Linked DNA regions of Homo sapiens: region 1 is linked to region 2. The links are contacts of gene promoters, found by promoter capture Hi-C in blood cells and fetal thymus (Javierre and others, 2016). All regions are on one chromosome and are shown on one strand. Each heading gives the region's core, a stretch centred on a gene start or on the middle of the fragment in contact. The rest is flanking DNA. Distances are from core to core; before and after follow the strand shown.

Region 1 (6,671 bases), core at 2,089-4,588, 270 kb before region 2:
AAAAATTAGCCGGGCATGGTTGCATGCACCTGTAACCCCACCTACTCAGGAGGCAGGAGAATCGCTTGAACATGGGAGGCAAAGGTTGCAGTGAGCCACGATTGCACCACTGCACTCCAGCCTGGCAATACAGTGAGCCTGTCTCAAAAAAAAAAAAAAGTGTTGCTCTGGATATTCATTTATTTATTTCTGACCTATTCTAGAATAGATTCAGATGGCTCACTGTGCTAGGTGTTTTAAATTATCTCACTTACTTGGGTGTTCTTCCCGATTACAGATGGGAAGAATCAGAGAGGCTGAGTAGCCTGCATAAATAAAAAGCCTTTTGTTCATTTATGGTATTACATTGCTGGAACCTTAAAATCAGGAAGTGTAGGAAACCACGTGCTTTTCCTACACAGGCTGCTTGCTGCCTGAAAGCAAGGATTGCAATTTAGAAATCCTTAGAATCTCTTCTGTCTCAAAGCCCTTAACAGTACTATGCATACCATAAATAAATGTTCAAGATATGTTTGTGGACTGACATGAAATGATAAAATAGTATAGGTGGATTGATTATTATAATAGGTATAGTGTTACCTACATACCACTCAAACCATTAATGGGAACATCCTCCCTCAATTTTAGATAATATTTTACCTAATAGACATATCTAAAATCCTCAGTAAAGCTGCCTGTTTATTCCTGAGTTGCCACACATGCACCACACTTATTGGAGTCATCTGATGTCATGTACATGTGCCTGGTCAAATGATTGCTAACAGAGAAGTGTGAGGAGAACCATCTGCCTTGTGGTCCTAAAAAAAATAGATGGTCCCATAACAGGGTAACCAATTCTGATCTGCTACATAATCAGGTGGAACCTCTTTTGTCAGAGGTTTATAACTGGAAACCCCACCACTTTCAATTAATTATAAGCGAGGTCAAATTGATTTTAGCCCTTTGTCCATCATCCAGTTAGGAAGATTCTGCTTGTCTAGAGTGGCAGAGTTGCAAAACAAAAGGGGCATATTCTCCAGGCATCTTTCTGAACATTCTAAATATGTAGTTAACCCACCATTGTCAAAACTAAAATATACTATGTATTAAAGAAAGCTTTGATTCACCTGTCGTTCTGAGTATACCAACTTCTAAATTAACTCTAGTGAAAACTAAGTATCATGAGCAAAAAGAAAAAAAAAATACATACTTCAGACTTTAATATATTCTTCAGCTTGTTAACCTCCAAATTAGTATCTTGAACCTTCTGTTTTATGTCATTAAGTTCATTATGAGTGTCATTCAATTTTTTGGACAGTGCCTACGAAAAAAAGATAGGTATATTTGACTATGAAAAATAAAAAATTTCTATATCTCAAAAATACCATAAACAAATTTTTAAACACTTGGAACAAATAAAATTAACATACCTAATATATAAACTCATATAAAAAAAGAAAACACATAAGCCCAATAGCAAGTGGGCAAATGACCCAAATAAGCAATTCAAAAAAGGAAGCATAAGTAGGTAAGACCTGAAAAAAACTCTACTAGCAACTGAAGATATGCTAATTAAAACAACACATTACTATTCTGCTTATCAAATTAATAAAGATTTAAAGCTATTCAGCTATGGTAAAGAATGGGCATTTCCATGTACTACTGGAGTAAATGTAGATTTGCAGAAAGCAAATCTGTGATCAGGAATCTGGTGATGTATCAAGAGACAATTTTTAAATGCTCATAAAAACAAGAAAGACAAAAATGTTGATTATTTTTGAAGGTGGGAAATGGCACATGGGGATTCATTATATTTGAAAATGTCTATTTACATTTTTTTAATTTAAAAAAGAAACCTCAGCTGGGTGTTTTTCCTGTAATCCTGGCACTTTGGGAGGATCACTTGAGCCTAAGAGTTTGAGACCAGCCTGAACAACATAGTGGGAACCCAACTCTACAATAAATAAATAAATAAATAAATAAATAATAATTAAAAAGAAACCTGATAATCTGTGATTCACTCTGAAATGAAATCTAATAAAATTTAATGAGATGCTGTCATTAAGGCATTTGTTACAGTGACAATATTTATTCACATTAAGTGAATCATGCAGTAAATAATAGTATATCTACATAGTGGCATAACCACATAATGGAATATTACATACCTGTGAGAAATGTTTGGAATGATTTTTAATAATACAGGGAAATATTTGCCTATGTTAAGTGAAAAAAAAATCGTGCTAAAACACAAAAATACCTCATTATCCCAATTTGTTAAAAATTGTGGTATCAAGGATAAATTTTTTTTAAGTTTCCACTTTCTCGTCTTCTGCAATACTGGTTCTTAACCTGTGGTCCACAGAGAGAGACCTCTCTTCTACCTTGGGCCTATGACCATAACGAAGAAAAAACTACTTTTGAGCATATGTAAATTGTTATGACAACAGTTTTCTTCTGATTATAAAAAATGTTTACAAAGTTTGAACAAGGCAGGAAAATGCTTACAATATTATAGTAAGCTAATAATAGCTATAAAATATTTATTGAGTGATATACTGGACAGTACAGTAAGTGCTTTCCAGGTATAGTCTCACTTATTAACCATTTTTACAGATGCTACAGAGACTCAGAGAAGTTGGTTTATATGATCACACACGCAGAGAGCAAGATTCAACCCATGTGAATCTTACTCGACTCTACTGCCTCTTCATGTAGAAAAAAGCATGATCTAAAGTGATAGGTGATTTTATCCCACTACATTAGAAAATGTGTATAAAAATAGTGTTAAAATTTTTAAGTGCACTGTATAGCAATTAAAAAAATATGTCAAATATAACAGTAACTGAGTATCAAAAACATGGGGGCTTTTCTAAACTCTTAACTTTTTGTTTAGAAAAAAGACTTTCTATAATAAGCTTCTATTTCTAAACCAATCAAAAAAATAGAAACTAAATTTCTAGGTTTTCATAAATAAGATATATCCACCTTTAGCCCATATGCTCTAGCTGTAAAGAGTACACAAAGGCAAACCTTACAAATTCCCATGTTTTGGTTTTTATTGCTATTCATTAATTTTTTAAATAAACTTTTAGAATAGTTTTAGATTTACAGAAAAGTTGTGAAGACATTATAAAGGGCACCTCTATTGTTAACATTTTACATTAGTATGGTGCATATGTCACAATTAATAAGCCAATATTGACACATTATTATCTGAAGTCCATACTTTATTCAGATTTCTTTCCTTTTTTACATAATGTCCTTTTTCTATTCCAGGATCCCATTATTCATTTACTTTTAAACAAAATACTTTAACATCTCAGATAATTTTTTATGATTAACAAAGTATTACAGCTTTATAGCTGTTTAAGTAAATTAATAATCTTCAACAGTTAAAGAACACAGACTTTCAGGATGCAAACTAAACACACTGAAAGTGATACAAAGTGGGGAAAACCATTTGGTCTTAAAAATTTTGAGAAGGGAAGAAATTTTCCAAATAGGATTTTTAAATGTTCACGTTAAAATAAATGTTATTGGAAATGAGAACTGCAGATTAGACTTAAATATATTGCCTTAGGGAGAAAGAGTAATTATAAGAGGAACTTTCCTAAAAAGAATCACAGTGCTAATGAGAACCAAAAAACAAGGCACAGTCCATACATTCATACTTAAAACAGAATAATATGTAGTCCATTTTTTTAAAAAAAAAACACCTATTCTTTTCTTTAAGGTTTCTCAAGGTTTTTATTCTCATTTTTTGATTATTCAAATATTTATCCTTCAGCAAGGAAGTACTAAGCTTTAATACAAATATAGCCCTGTTCTCTCTTTTCTTTAATATTTAACCCTTTGTGTCTGAGAATTCCATTTAAAAATTATGTGGCCTATTTTGTTATTTTTTAAAAAAAAGAAAAGGCTAGTTCCAGTGTCTGAGCTCTTCTATAAAATAAAATGAGGGCTGTTCCTCACAAGAAATTCATATTTTTTTTTCTTGGAGAAAATGATTCTAGGAACAAGTGTACCTGGTTTTCTTGTTTAGCTTTAGCAAACTGTTCCTGGAGATTGTCATTGTCATGAGCCAAGATATCTCTTTCCCTGGCGATCTGGGCCAGCTCATCATTTGTCTCATCCAATTGCCGACGCATTCTGGAAACGTCTTGTTCACACACAATTAGGGCCTCAGTACACTGTCTATTCCACAAATCAAAGAGTACATAAGAAGAGACATTTTACTGAAACAGAGCAACAAATTCTCACAAGACAGAAGATGGACAGTTAGTATGAAAACATTTGAAGAGATTTTAAACACGTTTGAATTTATAGGAATAAATACTGCAAAGACAGTGCATTAGAGTTTCTCAATGTTGCCATCATTTCGCTATGAAAAGGATACAAAGTATACATAATAGTCAATGATTTGCCAAATATTTCAAAACTTCTTACATCAAGTATTAGGAAGGCTTTCATCCTACTTCTGTTATGGCTTAGTCTCCTTTACAGATTCCTCTTCCTCTGCCCACTTAAAAATTAATGCTTTTCAGGGCTCAAGCCCTAGCCTCCCAATTATTCTCACTCTAACCCTTCTCTCAGACAAACTCTATTCATATCCATGGTTCCCAACCCCATCTAGATCCAATGACTCCAAAATAATTATCTCCAGTTTTAGACCCTCTGTTATACTCCAGACTTATATTTAACTGCTTACTAGACATGTCTACAATAAGGTCCCAAAGGTTCTTCAAATTCAGAGGTAAAATCATTTTTTCTCCTCATACTTTCTTCATGTTCAGTATTTGTCCCTGGCCAGAAACTTGGCATTTTCCTGGTGTCTCTCCCTCATACAAAAGCATTTCACTCCTTCTGTCCCACAACTCCTAAACCCCAATTTATCACCACCTCTTCTGCTTAGGTATCTTTCTAACACAAAATTCTCCTCAGAATTCTTTAATGATTTCTTATTGCCCAAAGGATATAACCAATACTCATTTGTCTGTTACACAAGCCTCTGCCTGCCTATTTAGTCTCCTCCCTTCACTTCTCCCCTTACACTCTAGGTTTCAACAACACTCACCCACTTGTAGGTCAAGAGGCTTGTCAACATGATCTGTGGTTCTTTGCTATTCTTTCTACTTTAAATGCCCTTCCCTTCCCCTTATTTTACTTGGCAAACACCATCCCCTCTTTTAGTTCCTTAGACAGACTTAGGCCTCCTTTGATGAGAGAGTTAGCACCTTACACGTATCATTAAGCCCCTTGTTTCTTACTATCTTTGTACCTAACATGGTACTTGGCCCCCCAGTAAGAGCTCATATATTTGTTGCACGACTGATTTACCTTGATGCCTGTTCCATCTCAGCAATGATATTCTTCATGCCTGAAATGGTCTTTTCCTTGAAAAATAATATAAGTATTAAATAAAAAAATCTTAAGCTGTTATTTCTGTTAAAATTGAATGAACAAAAAGAAAATTTCCCTTTCCCTTTAGGTTTCCATTTGGTTTTAAAAACATGTATGTCCTATTCTTTTCCACACTTTAAAGCCTAGTATATCAATGTGAATATTTGCACTGGGTAAAAATAGATTATGTTCATTAAAGTAAAGGCTATACTTAGGTGTAATTATGAGATCAGTATATCAAATTCTTTGTCAAAAGATATTTTATGCAGTCACCCAGCAATACAAGAACCCTATAACCACCTGTTTTTGGAGGCAAACCAATGGTTTGGCATTGGAGTATTGGCATTTTATACTGGGATTTAGAACTGGTTCTCTTGCTCACATTCTTTATGTTATAAAACCCAGAGAAGCCAATCATGTATACCTAAATTTAGTTTTTAAGAATAATTTTGATTAAGTGTATTATTTATATTAGCCAGCAACAAAATCTTCAAAAAGCTGTTCCAATCCAATTACTTATAGAAGTATACTACTGATATTTAGGTGAGAGCTAATAAGAAGGTAAGCATTAGGCCTCGAGCAAAGGTAAGAGAAATAAACTATATTTTCCTTTTTCAAAGGCGTGATGAGGGAGTAGAAGTAGTGGAGTCAGTCAAGGCAGAAATGGGTTTGAATATCTTAATGCCTTTAATACCATTCCCACACCTCTTTTTAAAACTTCCATTGACCCTGAACTAGTCCAACTATAAACAGATACTTAGAGCTAACATTAGCCCTAAAAAAGTAAGAAAGTTATTTCACTAAGTAATAACTAGATTTCACCTTGCCATTTGAATTTTCAAATTTTAAGTAACTAAGTAAAAAGATTTTTAAAAACCCAAACCTATATTTTCCAACCAATTCTGTTCCTGTTTCTTTTCTTTTTTTTTTTTTTTTTTTTTTTTTTTTTGAGATGGAGTTTTGCTCTTGATGCCCCGGCTGGAGTGCGAGGGCGCGATCTCGGCTCACTGCAACCTCCGCCTCCCAGGTTCAAGCGATTCTCCTGCCTCAGCCTCCCAAGTAGCTGGGACTACAGGCATGCGCCACCATGCCCAGCTAATTTTTTGTATACTTAGTAGAGACGGGGTTTCACTATGTTGGCCAGGCTGGTCTCAAACTCCTGACTTCAAGTGATCCACCCACCTCGGCCTCCCAAAGTGCTGGGATTACAGGCGTAAGCCACTGCGCCCGGCCGTTCCTATTTCTTTAGCGTTAGTTTTACACATATTTGCGTGTGTGTGTGTGTGTGT
Region 2 (6,475 bases), core at 3,273-5,772:
CCTCCACCTCCCGGGTTCAAGAGATTCTCCTGCCTCAGCCTCCTGAGTAGCTGGGACTACAGGTGTGCGCCACCACACCTGGCTAATTTTTGTATTTTTTGTAGAGACAGGGTTTCACCATGTTGGCCAGGCTGGTATTGAACTCCCGACCTCAGGTTGTCCGCTCACCTTGGACTCCCAAAGTGTTGGGATTACAGATGTGAACCACCATGCCCGGTCAAAACTCCCTATTTCTTCAGAAAAGTTAAGCCTCATGTTTAAGTCACAGTCAACTGAAAAGGAACCAGAGTTGGTGATAAAGTATTTCCATGTAACCCAGTGGAAAAAATGTTTTAATCAAAATTCAATTTGGCCAGGTGCGGTAGCTCACGCTTGTAATCCCATCACTTTGGCAGGCTAAGGTGGGCGGATCACTTGAGGTCAGAAGTTCAAGGGCAGCCTAGCCAACATGGCGAAACCCCATCTCTACTAAAAATACAAAACTTAGCCAGGCATGGTGGTGTGCGCCTGTAGTCCCAGCTACTCGGGTGGCTGAGGCAGAATAATTGCTTGAAGCCGGGAAGCGGAGGTTGCAGTGAGTTGAGATGACACCACTGTACTCCAGCCAGGGTGTCACAGCGAGACTCCATCTCAAAAAGCAGAAAAAAAAATTTCAATTTACAGAATTTAATCCACTGGTTTCAGTCAGAGTTTACAACTCTGCGTTTATTCTACACAAACATTCTAAGAGGCAACAACGATAGAGCTGTGGCCACCTTTGTTACAAAGCATGCATTCTTTTGAATATGCCACATAATTATTTCATTGGAAATGCCTGAAATACATTTTTCAACATAAATTGACTTAATTGCTCTTATCTCATCTGTCTTATCTCGTTTGCTTTGAAAATAGCTAAATCGGCTTTAATATTACCTGAAATGGAAACCAATGACTCCCTAGCCCTCCATTCAACCAAACAAATCCAAGCTCAGAAAAACGATCTTGGGCAGATCTTTCTTTTACTCGACTGTGGATTAATATAGAGATTGGGCTAATTTTGAATGTCTTTAAAACATATTTTTTTCTGGGCAAATTTTTAACAGTAATAGGTATTCTGAATTTTAAAAACCCTAAACACAAAGAACGAAATGTAACTACTACAGCACATGTATATATAAGTTGTTAGGCGCATACTGTTATAGCAATTTCAGAAAGCAGGGCAGAGAGGTTACTTGTTTCTGCTGTTGAGCTTTCCTTAGTGCCTGGAGTCTCTTTTCTTTAAGGCGTTCCAATTCATCCTCATCCATCTGATCCAGTTTTTGAATTTCAGAATCCAAATGTTCTTCCACCAGTTTGGTAGTCTGAAGCAGCTGATGCTCCAGGACTTTGGAAAACATGTCAACAGATGCATCAGCTTCCATTCTTCCAAATGGTACAGAGTTCAGCCTGGGTGCTGGGGAGAAGATTTACAAAATACATTTTAAAAAATGCAAACAATAAGCAAGGTTTTCTCTACCATTTTCAAAAATTCTGGCAAGTGTATAATGTGTACTCTATGGAGTATTCTAACGACATCCAAGCACTTGATGCTGGGCTTAACAATTTTTATGTGTTTTTAAATTTAATTCTCAGTAGGTTCTAGTCACACCACTCAAAAACTACTTACAGCAAATTTAGGGTGCTTCTGATTTAGCATATGTTTTACTATACTAAAGCCAAGACAAGTCTTTAAGACCATCACCAAACCACAGAGAAATGAGTTGTGAAGTTATACCTAGTGATATATACTGACAATCAGTGTTCTTTACCAATGGGAAAGAGAAATCAGAAACAACTGCGAACAATAGGAAGGTATACCTACTGAGGTTTTACACATAAATATATATATTAAACTTTACTTAAACACAGAGTACAGTTGAGCAAAACACAGATTTTTTTCATGGCTGCTGCCCAAATGAGTTTCATTTAACTCCTAAGACGTCTCATTACCATTTATGTAAAGAAGAGTGCCTGGTGTTCCCTGAGCATTAATGTCCATTCCTGTTCTCCCATTACCTAACAAAAAAGTCTATGAGGTCACAAAAATTAATACTGGTTTCCATTTACTGACAGTGTTAACTTTGATGTAAAACACTCCAAATACTTTTCTAAATTTTGGGTTTTTTTCCAACATCACTCCTCTGTGTAAAATCAGAGTTTCAAAATAGAACTAATTCAGATTAGAAAGGAAGACCTATCTCAATTAGTCATGCATCACTTAACAATGGGAATATATTCTAGGCTGGGTGCTATGGCTCACGCCTGTAATCCCAGCACTTTGGGAGGCCAAGGTGGGCAGATCACTTGAGTTCAGATGTTTGAGACCAGCCTGGGAAACATGATGGAACCCTGTCTCTACTAAAAATAGAAAAATTGGCCAGGCCCGGTGGTGTGTGCCTGTAGTCCCCGCTACTAGGGAGGCTGAAGTGGGAGGAGGATACCTTGAGCCCAGGAGGCAGAGGTTGCAGTGGGCTGAGAACGCACCACTTGCACCCCACCCTGGGCAACAGAGCCAGACCCTGTCTCAAAAACCAAAAACCAAAAACCCACAAAACAATGAGAATACATTCTGAGAAATGCATCATTAGGTGATTTTGATATTGTTTCAAACATTATAGACTATTTACACAAACCCAGATGGTACAGCCTGCTACACACCTAGGCTATGCCATACAGCCTATTACTCCTAGGCTACAAATCTGTACAGCATGTTACTGTACTGAATACTGCAGACAACTGTAACATAATGGCATTTGTGTATCTAAACATAGAAAAGGTACGATAAATACAGTATTACAATCTCATAAAACTGAAATGTCCTTATGTGGCACATGACTATATATTTTAAAAGAAATGGAGTATTTTGTACTAGCAATTAGTACAAAATTTTACTTTTTTTTTTGAGACGGAGTCTCGCTCTGTCGCCCAGGCTGGAGTGCAGTGGCGCATCTCCGCTCACTGCTAGCTCCGCCTCCTGGGTTCACGCCATTCTCCTGCCTCAGCCTCCCGAGTAGCCGGGACTACAGGCGCCCGCCACCACGCCCGGCTAATTTCTTTTTGTATTTTTAGTACAGACGGGGTTTCACCGTGTTAGCCAGGATGGCTACGATCTCCTGACCTCGTGATCCGCCCGCCTCGGCCTCCCAAAGTGCTGAGATTACAGGCGTGAGCCAGCCGCGCCCGGCCAAAATTTTACTTCTTTTAAAAGAAATGGAGTATTTTGTACGAGAAATTTTATACCAACAATTAGAGGGCAAGTTTATGTGTATCTCAGGGTTATTACTGCAGAAATGATTTATAATTTGCCTATCAAAGCAGGAGGCTGTTGCATATCAATGAACTATGATACATTTGCAAATAATACTGAAGCACCCCAAACTTCACAACAAACTGTGAATTCATTCACTCAGCTTCTGACACAGATTCTGACCCACACAGGCCCTCTATAAACGTTGAGCTGAAGAGAAATATTCTTGCAAACTTCAATTCTGATTCCTTTTTCTTTACAGGAAAAGGATTTGAAAAGCATACTTGATTTCATCTTTGTATCTCCATAGAACACAGCAGGTACTCAATAAACATGTATTTAACGTTGAATGAACACGTGCCTGACTTCTGTTCAAATTACTACACTGTTAAGTTTCAAAAGTATTTGAGTCTAAAAAACCAAATTGTAAGCTCCTCGTGAGTGCTATAAAATTGGAAAGGTGCTGTATTTCAAACACAGCAAAGATTTCCACGCTCCCTATCGCCCAAGAAAAATGTCAGTAGGACTGTGACCCTCAGTGAGGGGGCTGGAAGGAGAAGATAATAAGATACTGAATTGAACGTTGGAAGCTGTGCTCCAGGGATAAGCACAGAGAATGCCTACCCTGGAACTTTATAGAATGAGCCCAGAATTTAATTATGGGATAACTGGAAAAAGACGAGATTAAGAAGAGCTATTCTGGGTGTAGGTGTTGGTGGTCAGAGCATTGAGAATGGGGTAAAGAGACGATGCAACCCCTCGTTAGCTTTTCATTTTTCAAACCACAGCCTCTGATTCTTCCTTTTTACAGCTCCGCTGGAAGGGTGGGACGGGACACAGCGCGTCCTCAAATTCCCTAGTCATTTCCTGGACACCCTTACAGGTATCCGCCAAAACAATCAAGGGGCCTGGTCCTTAACTGAACCCCAGGTACCTCCCCAATGGCAAGCCGGCCACTCCCTGCGCCCGGGGAAACAGAGGAAAGCACAGTCCCGGTGGCCCCAACTTCGACGCCTCCTGGTGCGCTTGCGCAAGAGCCTCTGCCAGGACACCGACACCGGTGCTGGGGCCGCGCCCCTCCTCCGCTCCGGATGTGGAGCAGCAGAATGTTCACCAGCACCCGGACGTGGTGGTCGGATTCTTCTCACTACCCTCTGCCTCACCTGAGCTCTCGGTGACGCCTGAGAAGTGAAAGAGCAGCAGTTTCAAAAGACACGTCCACTCCGGCTTTTGCCTTGCAGTAGCTGCCGGCGGCTGCAAACGGGCCGTCACATCCGCCTCCTTATTGGCTGCGAACCTCGCGCGATATCACCTTGGACGCCAGAGGAAGGGGCGGGCGGTCGGGTGGCGAACAGTTCTGCGCGTGCGCCTCCCGCCCAGCAGCCCGGAACCCAAGGTGTCCGACCCTTGCTTTCCTCCGGGTACACGGCCGAACTGGAAGGCCGCAAAGCATTGTGGGAGTTGCAGTTTCTTAGTGCGCAGGCTGTCGTGGCCGGACTTTCTCAGGAGCGTGCTTCAGTATTCACGGTCCAGTGCGCCAGACTGGAAATGAGACAGCTGTGCTCTCGCTCAGCCGTGACGCTTGAACTGCGTTTCCATTCTGTTAGTGTTGAATGAACATTTTTCTTTTTTTTGTTTTCTTTTGTTAACATTTTTCCTAAAGTCGAGGCATAAACATATACAGCACAATTAACTTTTGCATAGTTAAAACCCAAAATATCACCGGCCAGATCCAGATATAGAACATTTTCCACCACCCCTGTAGGTCCCCTCTTGACTCTTCGAAACACAGGAATTTTTAGAACTCGCCCTCGCTTTGAGGGTGAAGCTGAAGACCTATGTTAGGGAATTGATCGGCTGTGTCCTGTTCTGTTTTATTCAGTGACTGTACATAATGCATAATGCATGGATGTTACTGAGAGGTCCCTATTTTGTCCTGAATTTATCTCTCTCGCAAACCCCCAGAGGACTCTATTGGTTCGTTGTGGTTCTTTACTGAACTTCGTGCGGCTGAGAATACAAAGATATAAAGGGAAGCCCAAAGCCCACTCCTGAACCGAAGCGTGCGTTCCCCGTTGGGAGAGGGGTGAGGTGGCGAAATTGACAGCTTCATTGTCCACCTCCGGGTTCTAGAACGTGGAAAACCCGCGGGTGTCGGCTCGTGGCGGACGCTTGAGGGCAGGGGGCGCTCGGGCTGCTGCCTGGTCGGCCGGTCAACCGGAGACGCTCTACCCGAAGCGCAGCTCTCGATGAGCCGCGCCCTGCGTCCTCACGCCGAGGCGGCTGGGCGATGCGCTTGCGCACTGAGAACTCACACCATATGTGTCCTGTTCCAGTGCGCGGGTCTGTGGAGAGCCGGGTGCGAGCGGCGGCAGCACGAGGGGAAAAGAGCTGAGCGGAGACCAAAGTCAGCCGGGAGACAGTGGGTCTGTGAGAGACCGAATAGAGGGGCTGGGGCCACGAGCGCCATTGACAAGCAATGGGGAAGAAACAGAAAAACAAGAGCGAAGACAGGTAGATAGGGGTTGGGTCCGTACGGCGGCGGCCGCCGTGGCTCAGTGGAGTGTGCGGGTCTCGCCGGGCGCGGCGTCGGACCGGGGTCTGGGCTCGCGATGAGCTTCGCGGGGTACCAGGCCTGGGCCCAGAGTGTGCGGAGCGGGCCCAAGCCCCCGGGCCGGGTGGGCACGTAGGGCCTCGACGGCGGGCGGGTCCTCCCAGTCGAGCCTCGCTCCCCCGGCACCCCTTCCCCGGCCTGAGGAGCGGGGTAGTCATTTGAGGGTTCCTGGTCGCGCGGGGAGGGTCAGGCGGCTTCGCCAGCGTGGCCCAGGCCAGTGTGAGTTTTTTTCCGCGCTACTCTTGGCGAGGGTGGGGAAGTTCTTTTTATGCCTCTTATACCTGTGAGTACTTTGGGAGGGAAGGGAGCTTGAATGTGATGTACGGCCGGGTTTCTCTACTCGCGGTTTCAGGTACGTTAGAGTTATGGGGAGGTGTTTAGCAGTTCGCTGTCTCTCAACTTAATCTGATTTGGATACAGTTTTCGTTTATTTAAGGGCTGATTGTCCAGCCCTCATGCTTTTCGCTTTCCTTCTTCCGGCCTGTTTTTTTTTGTCGTTTCTTTGCTCTCTAGCCTTCCCCTAAGAAAGGAAGGGAAGAAGAAGAAACCAACCAACCGAGGTCGCTCCTTTCTAACCACCTGCAATGCTTTGGGGA

Evidence for each region. Contacts are between HindIII fragments. The CHiCAGO score rates a contact against its expected background, and 5 or more counts as called.
Region 1: a fragment that was not itself captured here is called in contact with the fragment with the promoter of TXNDC9 in region 2 in 1 of 17 cell types (erythroblasts); the score reaches 5.2 in erythroblasts.

Annotation. Positions count from the first base shown.
Region 1 is chr2:99,067,699-99,074,369 of GRCh38, forward strand. TSGA10 (testis specific 10) reads right to left here. Exons shown (of 21, transcript NM_025244.4): 13 at 5,320-5,375; 14 at 4,008-4,176; 15 at 1,190-1,300. Among named protein-coding and RNA genes, the nearest start is that of C2orf15, 71 kb to the right of the region's middle. The HindIII fragment of the contact is 887 bases long and covers 2,896-3,782 here.
Region 2 is chr2:99,331,811-99,338,285 of GRCh38, forward strand. It overlaps TXNDC9 (thioredoxin domain containing 9), which reads right to left and starts at 4,523. Exons shown (of 5, transcript NM_005783.4): 1 at 4,429-4,523; 2 at 1,212-1,432. The coding sequence starts at 1,400. EIF5B (eukaryotic translation initiation factor 5B) reads left to right here and starts at 5,579. Exons shown (of 24, transcript NM_015904.4): 1 at 5,579-5,779. The coding sequence starts at 5,745. RefSeq lists enhancers at 4,008-4,237, 4,291-4,831, 4,368-4,417, 4,668-4,817, 5,178-5,227 and 5 more and a silencer at 5,848-6,007. The HindIII fragment of the contact is 22,802 bases long and covers 1-6,475 here.